2 separate regions of the Homo sapiens genome follow, and region 1 is linked to region 2. Evidence: promoter capture Hi-C in human tissues and cell types (Jung and others, 2019). All regions are on one chromosome and are shown on one strand. The core of a region is centred on a gene start or on the middle of the fragment in contact, and the rest is flanking DNA. Distances in the headings are between cores, read along the strand shown. Region 1 has its middle 100 kb from the start of CT66. Region 2 holds the start of AUTS2 (activator of transcription and developmental regulator AUTS2).

Region 1 (4,461 bases), core at 1,431-3,930, 100 kb before region 2:
GTTTATCTTAAGGAAATTGATTAACTCTTTGAGTCACCATGGGATGGTGAATCGGGTTTGAAATTCAGCTTCCAGGAGCCATCCCCAAAATCACACCGCAGAACTGAACTGATGAGGGAACCATTGGGAGTGACCCTGAGCTCTGGACACTTCAATTGGCCCCTCCACTTTAACACAAGGAACTTCACCCACCCTGCCACTACTACTGCTGCCTTCAGTACTGAGAGAGCTCCACACCCCTGCCTTGTAACTTTGGGACCAGAGCCAGTTTGACATGGTTATAACCAATGGCACAGCCTAAGTCACATGCCTGAACGCTAGTTTCAAAGGACACTAGGAAAACAAATTTAGATTATTTTTAAGGACCTGGCATGTTCAGTCATGCCTGTAATCCCAGCATTTTGGGAGGCCAAGGCAAGAGGATCACTTGAGGCCAGGAGTTCAAGACCAGCCTGGACAACATAGCAAGACTCCATTTCTACAAAAAAAAAAAAAAAATTAATCAGCCAGGTGTAATGATGCACACTTGTAGTCCCAGACACTCAGGAGGCTGAGGTGGGACAATCTCTTAAGCCCAGGAGTTCGAGGCTTCAGTGAGCTATGATTGCACCACTGCACTCCAGCCTGGCTGACAGAGCGAGACTCTTGTCTCTAAAAGAAAAAAAGTGGGCCGGGCGCGGTGGCTCACGTCTGTAATCCCAGCACTTTGGGAGGCCGAGGCAGGCAGATCACGAGGTCAGGAGATCGAGACCATCCTGGCTAACATGGTGAAACCCCGTCTCTACTAAAAATACAAAAAAATTAGCCGGGCTTGGTGGCGGGAGCCTGTAGTCCCAGCTACTCAGGAGGCTGAGGCAAGAGAATGGCGTGAACCTGGGAGGTGGAGCTTGCAGTGAGCCGAGATCGCACCACCGCATTCCAGCCTGGGTGACAGAGCAAGACTTTGTCTCAAAATTAAATAAATAAATGAATAAATAAATAAATGAAAAAAAGTGATAGTTTTAGGGCTTATACAGGGTAGTTTTTGCCCTAAACCAAGATTCAAAAAATGAGGCTTTTCCTAAGCAGAGAATGGGATTCAGTTGCTACATGACTGTGATGAATGACAAATATCCACCCCAAGTACCATTCAGGAACTATACTTCCAAAGTCTCATTTTTATAATAACTGGTCCTGTATTTATGAATAAGAATGTATACACAGCACAAGCTGGCCATAGGTCAACAATGTCAGTGGTTCCAAAACCTAACTATTCATCAGAATGATTAGAGGATCTTTGTTCAGGCTCCAGGTATAGAGATTCTGATTCAGGGGGTCTAAATCAGGGCTTCAGAATGTGCACTTTTAACAAATCCCCCAGGTAACTCAAACATGATCAGGCTCCAGTCATTTGGAAACTAGATTTTTTTTCTTTCTAAAAAATTTTTATATTTTTTAATAAATAGAAACGGGGTTTTACTGTGTTGCCCAGGATGGTCTCCAACTCCTGGGCTCAAGCGACCCACCTGCCTTGGCCTCCCAAAGTGCTAGGATTACAGTTGTGAGCCACCTCACCCAGTCTGAAAACTACTTGAAACCCTGTCCCTACACTCACAGCCAACAGAAAGCAAATACTGGCCTAACATTAGTTTTGCTCCTAAAGTCCAAGAAATGGCCACATAAAGAATCCATTCTCATATTCTATAAATTTACTATAAAAGATATCAAATTCAGGGAAAACTAATAGGTAATTAATAATTTAAGCTTGTCTATATGATGAATTTTTGTGTGGAATTTTATTTTTATTTTTATTTATTTATTTATTTATTTATTTTGAGACAGAGTCTAGCTCTGTCACCCAGGCTGGAGTGCAGTGGTGCAATCTCGGCTCACTGCAACCTTCGCCTCCCAGGTTCAAGCAATTCTCCTGCCTCAGCCTCCTGAGTAACTGGGATTACAGGCATGTGCTGCCATACCTGGCTAATTTTTGTATTTTTAGTAAAGGTGGGGTTTCACCATGTTGTCCAGGCTAGTCTCAAAGTCCTGACCTCAAGTAATCTGCCTGCCTTGGCCTCCCAAAGTGCTAGGATTACAGGCATGAGCCACTGCGCCTGGCCAAATGCAAAATTTTTAAATGGTCATTGCAAATAGTTTTTTCGTTTGTTTGTTTGTTTTTTTTGAGACAGGGTCTCACTTTGTCACCCAAGCTGGAAAGCAGCCACGCAATCTCAGTTCACTATAACTTCCACCTCCTGGACTCAAGTGATCCTCCCACCTCAGCCTTCTGAGTAGTTGGGACCACAGGTGTGCGCCACCATGCCCAGCTAATTTTTGTGTTTTTTTTAGAGACAGGGTTTTGCCATGTTGCCCCGGCTGATCTTGAACTGGCCACAAGCAATCCACCTGCTTTGGCCTCCCAAAATGCTGGGGTTACAGGAGTAAGCCACCATGCCTGGCCTGCAAATAGTTTTTAATAGCATGAGAAAGTGTTTATTATACAATATTAAGAGAAAAAATCATGACACTCAATATTATGTGTGTGGGCGGGGGGGTAGGGGAGTTGGTATATAACATGCTTCCAACCATGTAAAATAAATGTATGCATAAATAACAAAAGCAAGATTTAATATGTGTATTCCATGCCTTCCCTTCTCCACCCACTAATGGCAAAGAGGCCAAAAAAAAAAAAAAATTAAGAGGAGGATTGAAGTAAAGAAGCTAAGTCTGTCAAGATAATAAAAGGCTGGGGAAGAAGGGGAAGTAAACAGTAAAGACTGCAGTTGCAAAGGAGAGGAAGTATCTTTTGAAAAGAGGATCTGTTGCCAGGTGCGGTGGTTCATGCCCATAATCCCAGCACTCTGGGAGGCCGAGGCAGGGGGGTCACTTGAGGTCAGGAGTTTGAGAACAGCATGGCCAACGTGGTGAAACCTTGTCTCTACTAAAAATACAAAAATTAGCCAGGCGTGGCAGCAGGTGCCTGTAATCCCAGCTATTCGGGAGGCTGAGGCAGGAACCCGGGAAACGGAGGTTGCAGTGAGCTGAGATCATGCCACTGCACTCCAGCCTGGGTGACAGAAGGAGACTCTGTCTCAAAAAAAAAAAAAAGGTAGACATGACCTATCACACTGATCTTTTTTTTTTTTTTTTTTTTTTTGAAACGGAGTCTCGCTCTGTCGCCCAGGCTGGAGCAGTGGCACGATCTTGGCTCACTGCAACCTCCGCCTCCCGGGTTCAGGCCATTCTCCTGCCTCAGCCTCCCAAGTAGCTGGGACTACAGGCGCCTGCAACCACACCTGGCTAACTTTTTGTATTTTTAGTAGAGACGGGGTTTCACCGTGTTAGCCAGGATGGTCTCGATCTCCTGACCTCGTGATCTGCCCGCCTTGGCCTCCCAAAGTGCTGGGATTACAGGCATGAGCCACCGTGCCCAGCCCACACTGATCTAATCAAGAATTTTTCATGGGAATTCTGGAATATAGATTCTCTCTTCTCTACTGAACATGGAAGAGGAAGCTTGCAGACCTGGGACAGAGTTTCTCAATCTCAGCAGCACTGACATTATGGGCTGAGCAATTCTTTGATGTGCTGTCCTGTACATTAAGGGATGTTTAGCAGCACCCCTGTTCTCTACCCACCAGATGCTAGCAGCATCACATCCCTTTCCCAGAGTTGTAACAAGCAAAAGTGTTTCCCGACATTGCCAAATGTCCCCTAAGGGGAAATATAAAATCACCCCCAGTTGAGAGCCACTGTCCTGGAAGTAGCTGAGTGTCAACCTAGGACGAAGAGTCGGAAGCCCTGCTGAGAACAGAGCCAGCTTGGAACAAACCGAGCTGAGACATGGAGGAGGGAGGAAGAGTGGGAGTCGGCCTGGTGCAGTGGCTCACGCCTGTAATCCCAGCACTTTGAAAGGCCGAGGCGGACAGATCACCTGAGGTCAGGTGTTCAAGACCAGCCTGGCCAACATGGTGAAACCCCGTCTCTACTAAAAATACGAAAATTAGGCCGGGTGCGGTGGCTCAGGCCTGAAATCCCAGCACTTTGGGAGGCCGAAGCGGGCGGATCACCTGAGGTTAGGAGTTCGAGAGCAGCCTGGCCGACATAGTGAAACTTGGTCTCTACTAAAAATACAAAAATTAGCCAGACGCAGTGGTGCTCACCTGTAGTCCCAGTTACTTGGGAGGCTGAGGCTGGAGAATCGCTTGAACCCGGGAGGCAGAGGTTGCACTGAGCTGAGATCGCACCACTGCACTCCAGCCTGGGTGACAGAGTGAGACTCTGTCTCAAAAAAAAAAAAAATTAGCTGGCGTCGTGGCGCCTGTAATCCCAGCTACTCAGGAGGCTGAGACAGGAGAATCGCTTGAACCCGGGAGGCAGAGGTTGCAGTGAGCCAAGATCATGCCACTGCACTCCAGCCTGGGCAACAGAGCCAGACTTCACGTCAGAAAAAGAGTGAGAGTCACATTGTTTACGTCCAGAAAA
Region 2 (3,898 bases), core at 233-2,732:
ATCATATACACAGCGCTCTAGCACGGTGCCTGGCCCATTGTAATTAATACATGCCAGTTTATTTTCCTTTTCTTCCTCCACAAGTATGGGCTACTAGGGAGGACGAAGGGTTGGTGCCGTGGTGTTTATGTGCCTGGACAGAAAGTGAAGCGTATCCAAGAGGCTGCTGAGAGCGGGCTGTCGGTCTTTCTGATCCGTATAGATCAATTCCAGTGCCCTGAAAAACGCACAGCTATTTTACCCAGAGAGGCTGGTCGCTTTTGTTGATCGATTCTCGGCTGCAGTCAGCTCTTTAATACAACTTTTTATGAGCATCAGCCACATTGCGGCGGGAGGAGGGGCTGTGGTGGAAAAAGCAGGGAAACCGCCCCCCACTCCCAAAAAGTAAAGGAAGCCCGCGGGGCAGGGACTGCGGTTTGCCGGTCTAACGGGTCCTCGAGCTGGGGCGGCGGTCCCGGCCCCTTCGGCCCCGCCCCTCGCCCGCGGCCGCCTCCGAGGTTCAAGTTCGGCCCCCGGCTGTTAGGCCTCGCGCTCCCGGATCTGAAGCCGCCCGTGCGTCCCTAGGTCCCCCGCTGGAAGACGAGGCGGGAATCCCAGGGGTCATCCGGGCGCGGGGTCGCTCGTCCACGCACTGTGGTGCCACGTGGAGGAAAAGTTTCCAACTCTGCCAGTTGGTGCTCCCACTGCGCCCAGGCGGAGCAAAGGCCCGCGCTTTGGCACCCGCTCCCCGTTCTGTCTCCTCCAGTCGCGCCCCCTCCCAGGGACGCCCCCCTTGTACCCCTTCTCTGAATTCCCTTCTCTCCTCGCAGCGCAGGTAGCCAAGGGAAAACACCCTTGGGGGCTGGTGGGGCTTCCCGAGAAGGCGGCCTCGGGCCGGCCAGGGGTAGAGGATCCAGGGACAAGTGTCCCGAGGAGGATGTGGGGGGCGCGCGCGCGAAGTGGCCTGGGAGCAGGGGCCCACACGCGTCCCCGCTGCGACAGGCGGGATCCTCCGGCGGCTTCCACGCCCTGGCGCGCCAACTCTGCCCGGCCGCGGCCGACCCCACGCGGGCGCCCCCTCCACGCCCCCGCCCCCGCCCCCCTCACAGCTCCCCACCGCCCCCAGTGCGCAGGCCCGGCCGCCCCAGCGCGCATGCCCTGGGCTCGCGAGCGCGGCCAGCCCCCAGCCTTTTGCTTTCTACACACTCTACAACTGGGGAGGGGGCGGGGGAGGAGGGAGCCCAGCCGTCCACGTGATCCCGCCGGCCGGGGCCGCGGGGGCGGGAGCGCGCGCCGAGAGAGGCGCGGGGAGGGCGGGTGCGCGGGAGCGCGCGCACTCGAGCGAGCGAGCGAAAGCACGAACGAGCGAGCGAGCGAGCGAGCGAGCGGGCGGGCGCGGGGTTGGGCTGAGGCGGGCGGCGGCGGCGGCGGCGGCGGTGGGCTGGCCGCGGAGGGGGAGGAGCGGGAGCTGCGCGAGGCAGGCGGGCGGGCGGAGGATGGGGCAGTGCCCGGGCTCCCGCTGCAGCCGCCCGGGGACACGCCGTGCACCCTCCGGCTCGGGGCTTTCTCGGCGGCGGCGGCGGCAGCAGCAGCAGCGTTAGCGGCGGCGGCGAGAGCAGCGTTCCCGGCTGCGCTTCTCCCTCAGGCGGGGCGGCGAGAGAAGCGGCGGCGGCGGCGGCGGCACACCGGTGTCTCTCCCGCTGGAGATTTCTTTCTGCTTTCCTCATCGACTGACTGACTCACCCCCTCCCTTTTTTGAGGAAGGGTGACCTCTTCTCTGGGACTGGAAAAAATATTTTTGTGAGGAGGGGGGCGGGTGGCAGCGACAGGGTTTGCTTCTTCTCTTCTTTCATCTCCCTCTCCTCCCCCCTCGAAGACCGAAAAGCAAACCCCACAACTGCTCCAGCAGCATCCTCCTTCCCTTCCTCCGCCTCCCTTCTCCTCCGCCGCTCGCAGTTTCGCCCTCTCTTCCGCTAATGATTGCATTATTATGCTCCCCTCTCTGGGGGGTCTCGCCCCTCTTGGGTCGCTCCGGAGCCCCGGCCTCCCCTGGCTGCATTTCTTAAAAATTTGGGAGCCTGGGAGTGAGTTTTCTCCGAGGCGTGTGTGAGAGGCGGCGGGGGTGTTTTCCTGCGCGAGGGGCGGGTGAAGTTCATTGCCCCCACTTTTCCCGCGACCTTTTTCGGACCCGATTTTGGATCGAGTTGAGGGGGGCGCGGGCGTTTTCGGGGGGCGGGGGGCGCGGCGGAGAATGGCCGCGGGGAGGGCTCCCCGGAGCCTCCCAGTCTCTTGATCAAAGCATTCCGCTATTCTGATTTATTGCTTGCTTGGTGAGTTATTTTTTTTTCCTCTAAAGGAGACCTGTGTGTTCAGCCATTACTTTGCTCGGCGCTGCTCCCAGGCATCTCCGACCCTCGGTGCTGTGGGGAGCCCCACACTTGGGCTCCTCGCCTCTCGCCCTCGCTCCCCGTCCCTCCTCCCCTCTCTCCGCCCCTTCCCCCTTTTCTTTCTCCTCTCTTTCTTCCCCTCTCTCCCTTCTTTCGGCCGCCGTCTCCCCCGCGCCCTCCTCGGGGCGGAGGGAAGCCGTGAAGGGGGAGGGAGGGCTCGGTGTCAATTTTTTTTTGTGTGGCTGCGGCCGTAGCCTGTGGCGGGCAAGCGGGGAGACCCCGGCGCAGCAGAACCATGGATGGCCCGACGCGGGGCCATGGACTCCGCAAAAAGCGGCGGTCGCGGTCGCAGCGAGACCGGGAGAGGCGCTCCCGGGGCGGGCTGGGGGCCGGCGCGGCCGGCGGCGGCGGGGCTGGCCGGACCCGGGCGCTCTCACTCGCCTCGTCGTCGGGCTCCGACAAGGAAGACAATGGGAAGCCCCCGTCCTCCGCCCCGTCCCGGCCCAGACCCCCGCGGAGGAAGCGGAGAGAGTCCACCTCGGCAGAAGAGGACATCATTGATGGATTTGCCATGACCAGCTTTGTCACTTTTGAAGCGCTGGAGGTAAGGGGGACCCCCCTTCCCCCGGGTTCCCTTTATGCACGACCCCACTCGGCTGCGCCCGGCTCTCCTGCCTCCCTCGCCGCGCTCCGGGCTGTCTGTCTGTCTGTCTGTCTGTCTGTCTGTCTAGGCTGAGGTCTTATTGTTGGTGGGGGGAGCTGGGGGCGCGGGCAGACAGGCAGCAGGAGGGAGTCGCAAAGCCGTGCCTGGTCTCGTTTCCTCGCTCGCCTTTCCCCTGCGCCCCCTCCCTGCACCCCCTCCACAGCAGATGGGCAGAAAGAAAGGGGTTCGGGCATCACAACAATGCGCCCCCTCTCCACAGAGAGCTCTGCCCCCACTCCTTCCTCCTCTCCCTCCCCAATCATGGCTTCTTGGCTGGTGGAAGTCTCTTTGCTGGGTTTGGGGCGCCTGTGGACGGTTCTGTGTGCTTTCTACAGAGTCATATGTTCGTGTGTGTGTGTGTGTGTGTGTGTGTGTGTGTGTCTGTGTAGTATATACCTTTCCCGGGTGTCCTCGGGACTGGAGACTGATGGGGTTTTGTGATTTCTTTGCGCCTCCCCCCATTACCCCCCCATATTCTTTTTTTTTTTTTTTTTTTGGTGAAGCTGGGGAAGGGGGCGTTTTCTCCTGGTTGGGAGAAAGGAGGGAGGAGGGGAGAGAAGAGGGAAGGGTGGAATAGCTCTCTGTATTCTGTATGGGGTTCTGTTACAGAAAGGGTTAATTATAATATTATCTATACACATACATAGGCACATGTGTGTGTGTACATGAGCAATTTAGTTAAAGGACAGAAAAAGGTACACCAGGGAAGACTGGTGGGAGGGAAGAATAAAATCCTAGCTGCTATCTGAAGGGCTTGTCACCAATTGTCCCTCTCCCTTTCCTTTTTTGTGTTTTCTTTTTTTTCTTTCTAAGTGATTGGCTTTGTGTG

The links. The method cuts DNA at HindIII sites, captures the fragments that hold promoters and counts their contacts. A contact is called where the count stands out against the background at its distance.
Region 1: a fragment that was not itself captured here is called in contact with the fragment with the promoter of AUTS2 in region 2 in 2 of the 25 tissues and cell types used here (H1 embryonic stem cells and hippocampus).

The regions. Positions count from the first base shown.
Region 1 is chr7:69,491,324-69,495,784 of GRCh38, forward strand. No RefSeq gene overlaps it. Among named protein-coding and RNA genes, the nearest start is that of CT66, 100 kb to the right of the region's middle. The HindIII fragment of the contact is 4,629 bases long and covers 367-4,461 here.
Region 2 is chr7:69,596,993-69,600,890 of GRCh38, forward strand. It overlaps AUTS2 (activator of transcription and developmental regulator AUTS2), which reads left to right and starts at 1,483. Exons shown (of 19, transcript NM_015570.4): 1 at 1,483-2,970. The coding sequence starts at 2,662. CT66 (cancer/testis associated transcript 66) reads right to left here and starts at 632. Exons shown (of 3, transcript NR_148927.1): 1 at 55-632. RefSeq lists enhancers at 653-732, 1,913-1,962 and silencers at 1,043-1,462, 1,483-1,562, 2,727-2,796. The HindIII fragment of the contact is 7,960 bases long and covers 1-3,898 here.